Regions from separate parts of the Homo sapiens genome. Here region 1 is linked to region 2. The links are contacts of gene promoters, found by promoter capture Hi-C in blood cells and fetal thymus (Javierre and others, 2016). All regions are on one chromosome and are shown on one strand. The core of a region is centred on a gene start or on the middle of the fragment in contact, and the rest is flanking DNA. Distances in the headings are between cores, read along the strand shown. Region 1 overlaps DMRTA2 (DMRT like family A2). Region 2 holds the start of LINC00466 (long intergenic non-protein coding RNA 466).

Region 1 (2,700 bases), core at 61-2,560, about 13 Mb before region 2:
TTTGGGTAGAGGCGAGTAAAAAAATTAAAGCGTGTACATTTCGGCCCGATGCAGGAGAAAGGGGTAAAGTGCAAATGCTCCAGAAGCGGGAGAAAGGAGAGTTTCTGTACCCACGCTCCATACCCGAGGCTGGGCGAGCGGTGAACCCTAGCAGTCGCGGCGACTGGACACGGGGGTTCTACTCTTTCTGAACCGAGACAAGCCCCTGGGCCCCGTGCCCCAGAGCTACGATCCTGCTGCCCCTACCTGCGGCCTGGCCGCGCTCTCACCTGAGCCCCCTGCGCCAGCTGCTCCGCCTCCGGTCCCCGCGGGCGCTCCCGCTCCAGGTCCCCCGCCGTCGGCGGCGCACACTGAACCGAAGACCTCGTAGGCGGGCCTCGGGGGGATGATGCCGTTGGCGGCGGCCAGCGCCAGCCCCTCGGCAGTGCCGTAGAGCAGCTGCAGCTCGCGCGCCTCGTTCTCCTCCTGCGCCTGCTGCCTGCGCAGCGCCACCTGCGCCGCCATGACACGCTGGCGCTCCGCGATGAGCGTGCACTTGGCGCACAGGCAGTCCTTCCAGCGACAGTAGCGTTTGTGGCCCTTGAGGGCCGACACCACGCCATGGTTGCGACAGCGCGCGCACTTGGGGGTCCGCGGGTACTTCTCGGCTGCCCGCAGCAACAGTGGCGGCCCCCGCAGCAAGCCGCCTGCCACGCTCACCGGTAGCGATGCAGCGGCCGCCGCGGCTGCCGCCACCGACGCCACCGACGCCACAGGCGGCCCCGTCGCTGTTGCCGCCGCCGCCGTCGCCGCGCCGGGCACGCTGGGCAGCTCCGAGCGCAGCTCCATGACAGGACCTGACGGGAAAGAAGGTGGGAGAGGGGAGAGACCTGGTGAGGAGCACACCGCGCGCTAGGCCAAAGCGCCGCCTTGAGGAACCCAAGCTGGAGAGGGAAATTTGGGCCGCGGAGGCTGGGCTAGAGGGGCCAGAATTGCTGGGAGGAGGTGCAGTCGGAACCTCCTTGTGAGCCCTAGCACCTTCACCCCAGTCTGGCCATGGCTGCTCTTAGACCTGATATACACGCTAGGGGTAAGATTTTGTCTGAATTAGTGATTCCGCTGGAAAAAATAAAGAGACATGTAAAGTGTGAAAGTCACTGATTCAGATGGCTGTAATGAGAATTTGGAAAAGTTAAGATGATACCCCAAAGCTTAGCCTAATTGGGGTGAGACGGGTGAGAGAAATGCTCGTTTGACGGGACTGGGATTAGAGCGACAGTTTTGGCCCAGAAGTTAGGCTGATGCCAAGGGCAAAACAGGAAAACCCGGAGCAAAACGGTCAGTTTGGTGGAAGGGTGAAGAGGAGAGAGATGTGAAGGCGCAGATGTGAAGGCCGGTTGGGCCGGAGTTTTGTTTCTTTTTGTTTGTTTATTTTTAATGCAGTTTGGGGCAGAAGCTTTGGAGAGAAAAATCAACAACAGAAAGAATAGCTTTAGGAAGCAGAGTGAGGACGAGGAAACAACTTGGGCAAAGTTAGGCCCAGTGGCTCTGGGACCCGTAAAAATGTGAGCGCCAAAAGTTCCACGGTGAGGGCCTCCAGAGAGTGAGAGACAAAATGTATGTGGAATTTAGCTTAGGACTGGGAAGTATTAAAGAGAAAAATTCGGCCAAAGAAACTTTCTGTATAGGCAAACCCAGCCCAAAGATGAGCTTCATGGGCAAGGAAAACAGTGAAAAGCAGCTGATCTGGGTGTCCGGGATCCAGGGGCCGCGCCTGGGAGAGGGGAATGTGTAAGAAAAAACCCCACAGGCAAATGCTGGGGGAGGGGATTGGGTAAAACCTGTGGTGCAGTTTTTTAGCTTCGCAGTCTGGAGTAGTAGTCGGGGCGGAAGACGTATCCTGCGAAAAGTTAGGCATTTCGGGAGGGGGATCTTTCTCGAAGACCACCTCACACTGCCCTCCCCTCCCCTCCGGGTTTAGGGACAGAGTCGTCAGACACGCCCTCCCCGTCTTGGGGTCCCAGGGGACCCCTCTCGAGCGCAGGCTCCTGCGTTCTGATCTCAGAGTTGGGGTCCTAGGACACGGATGGCCCAGCAGGCCGCACCAAGCCAGGGGAGTCGCCTTCGCAACTGGCCATAAACGGACACCAGAGTCCCTCCCACGCCGCAGCCCCATAAGGCCCAAGCAGGCCCAGCTCCCCGCTTCTGCCGCGGTCTCCTCTGCTTCCCGCGTTCCCCGTCCCTGCCAGAGCCCGCGACAGAGTCCTTGTGTCTCCGTCCGAGAGTCCCAGACCTCCTCTCTATGAGCGTTGCCTCCTCTCCCAGACCCTTCGGGCGTCCCTAAGGCCCACGGGGCCCAGGCCTCCTCAACAGGGGCCGCAGACCAGGTCTCCACCCACTGCTCTCCCTGCGGCCCTCAACTACCTGCCTTGGGCTCCGGGATCCTCCTCCTCCGCTGGCGCTGCACGCGCCTCCCGGCTCCACTGGCGACGCTGGAGCTCTTGGCCGCTTCCCTTTGCCCCCGGCCCCTTATCTGACCACGTCACCCTCCTTCAGTCACCATGTCCGAACTTCCGGACCCCTCAGAACGCAGCGCAGTCCAACCCTCCCTTCAGAAATCCGGGTCGGAGGCTCGTCTGCGGGCCGCGTGGTTGGAACCCGCGACCTGACTCTCGCCGTGCCGGGTCCCCTCGCGGTGCGCGCCGGACGCTGCGCGCAGCC
Region 2 (2,700 bases), core at 146-2,645:
GAGGATCGTTTGAGGCCAAGAGCTTGAGACTAGCCTGGGCAACAGAGCGAGATCCCATCTCTACAAAAAATAAAAATAAAAAATTACCTGGGTGTGGTGGTGTGCATCTGTACTCCCAGCTACTCGAGAGGCTAAGGCAGGAGGATCACTTGAGCCCAGGAGGTCGAGGGCTGCAGCCATCTACAATTGCACCACTGTACTCCAGCCTGAGACACAGAGTGAGACCCTGTCTCAAAGAAAAACAAAAAAATGTGTTTCGATATCCGCGATCCATGTCACATCTGTTAGTGTACCTTTAGTACATGACTTCTGCATTGTTTGCTAACTGACATTCTGTGTGAATAAAGCGTGTATCACAATGGTGTTTCCGTATGTTATCCAAGTGGGTCCTTTCCCCAGGATGTGAGTGAGCCTTTGGCATGGTCTTTTTAAGATTTTGCCAAGGGAAGACTGGGCTGGAACTAAGGAGCTAACATACCATTGAAATCAAATATCCCGTTGGGTGCACTGGAGGGTAGAGAAGAGGGGATTCCTGCACTCACGCTAAATGATAAACTTTTCCAAGGGCAGGGTCGTGAGAGGTCTTCCAGGTCACCTAGTGTTCTGAGTCATGCAGAAGTAGGAAATGGACACAATACTCCCCGCAGAGAATCCTTCCCACAGGACTGATCCTGTCCCTTCCTCCCCTCCCCCGCCCCACACAAGGCGGAATCCCCACGCAGTGCACTGCAGGCGCGGTGGCCACTGCCCCTAGAACCAGATCTCTCCCCCAGTCCCGTCCTCTCCAAGCTCCAGATATGTCAAGGATTCTTAAGCAGGGGTTTTCCAATCTGTCCCTTGAGGAACTACCCCTGAGGCAAGGCGGGCAGGCCCAAGCTGCGATGTGGAGAATTCGATGTCCGAGCGACCTCCTCGGAGGAGTGGGTCGAGTTAAATATAACCGCGCGAATGGAATGGCGCTAAAAATAAGGCAGCAGCTGGCCTGTCCACAGCCCTGTCCCGGGAGGGGCGGGGGCCCCAGTGGTCTTGGGCAGGAAGGCCGCGTCCGGCCCAGGGGCGAGAAGGCTGCGGCGTCCGCAGCCAGGGCTGGAAGGCCTGGGAGGCCGCGCTCTGTGGGCCCCGGGGCCTCCATTCGGGCTGGGTCGCGGGCCTGGACGGGGACTGTCCAGAGGCATCCGAAAGCCAGGCCAACTTGCCTGGACGTAACAAGACGGAAGGGCTGGGCGCTGAGGTCCTGCCAGCCCGGCCGCCAGAGGGAGCTGAGCGCCAGAGGAGGACAAGCCGAACCCTTCAGGAGGCCGGGCGTCTCCGGAGACCGAAGCGCCGGAGGACCCGAGGAGGTCTGCCCCGCGCGCTGCTCTGGAGACTCCCGGGGCGGGTGGCGCTCGGCCTTTCCGCTCCCTTCCTTCCCACAAGTCCCTTCCCGCGCGCGCCCCACGGCCCTGCCCGCCCTCCCGCGTCAGCGCCCCAACCGTCAAGCCAGCAATTGAAACGTTTCCAAAACGGTCTATTTATTTGCTCCCAATAAATCGATCGGCGGTGATTAAAGAATCGATGTGGCCTGGGTGGGCGAGTCGCTTGAGGGGAGGGATTGGGGGCTTTCGCCCGGCGCCTGCAGGGAGGCCGAGGGCGGGCGCGGGCCTGAGGGAGGCGTGTCCCGCCCGGGCCACACCCGAGGACCCGACACCTGGGCTGGCAGGCCCCGGCAGGCAGCGTTCCCTCCGGCGGAGAGGGGCGCGCGCCCGCCGCCTGCTTTCCTCGGCCCCTCTCGCCTTTCTCGCGCGCCGGGGAGGCTGTGGCCGCCAGTGGCTGCGGAGCTGCTCAGAGGCTTTTGTTGCTCCTCGGCCGGCTGAATGGGGATTTTGTAAAGCGGGACAGATAAAAATGAGCAGCATCATATTGTTTGACAGAATGATCTCGCATGATGAAGTGTCGGCTCCGAAGGGGGTGAAAATGGTGAATTCCTAAAAACCCAGCCCTGGGCTCCTCCTCGAGCTGCCGGTAGCCTGGAGGGACCCAGCGGACAGCCGGGCCTGGCCGCATCGCTCCAAACGGTGTCAGAAAGACTCCGGCTTTCAATGCCAAGTCATTTTTAAGCCCCGATCCTGTCCAGGACCTTTCTCCTCGTGGATGAAAAGAACAATTTTCGAGAGAAAGGCTCGTTTTTATTAAATCCGACATGCTGCTGATAACTCCATGCTAATGTGAAATAATTAACATAATAGCCATAATTAAAAGCACGCTAACAATGCCATAAATTTATCACACAATTTTACTAGCTTTCTGCCCCTAACTGCTCTCTCATCGTTAATTAAACGTGTTGCCTTTTACAGAATGGATGTTTATATATTTCCAATATAAATAAATTCGAAACCATCCTCTCTCTCTTCCTCTTTCTCTCCTCCTTTCCTTTTGGTCTCTCGCCATTTACAGGCACGCCTTGGCGTGGACCCTGAGTGGCAGACATCTTGAAAATAAATGAAGTTTTGAGATGCAAATCCAAACAAGAACATTAAAATAGCCTCTTTTTTTCCACCCCGAAAAGATCCGGAGAGGTATACAAGGGGGTAGTGGTGGGTAAGAGAGTTGAAAATCCCCCGCTTTGGGAAATGGAAGTAATCTGGGTGGGTTGGGGCCTTGGGTACCACCTCTGCCCTTTCCCACCTTCCTTGGTGGCGGCCATCCAGACAAAGAGGCCGG

The links. The method cuts DNA at HindIII sites, captures the fragments that hold promoters and counts their contacts. A CHiCAGO score of 5 or more calls a contact.
Region 1: a fragment that was not itself captured here is called in contact with the fragment with the promoter of LINC00466 in region 2 in 2 of 17 cell types (total B cells and naive B cells); the score reaches 16.4 in total B cells.

Annotation. Positions count from the first base shown.
Region 1 is chr1:50,420,709-50,423,408 of GRCh38, forward strand. DMRTA2 (DMRT like family A2) reads right to left here. Exons shown (of 3, transcript NM_032110.3): 1 at 2,408-2,700; 2 at 270-836. The coding sequence starts at 828. Among named protein-coding and RNA genes, the nearest start is that of DMRTA2, 1.4 kb to the right of the region's middle. RefSeq lists an enhancer at 531-1,030. The HindIII fragment of the contact is 245 bases long and covers 1,189-1,433 here.
Region 2 is chr1:63,315,862-63,318,561 of GRCh38, forward strand. LINC00466 (long intergenic non-protein coding RNA 466) reads right to left here and starts at 1,396. Exons shown (of 12, transcript NR_038252.3): 1 at 1,197-1,396; 2 at 88-226. RefSeq lists a silencer at 1,542-1,721. The HindIII fragment of the contact is 23,330 bases long and covers 1-2,700 here.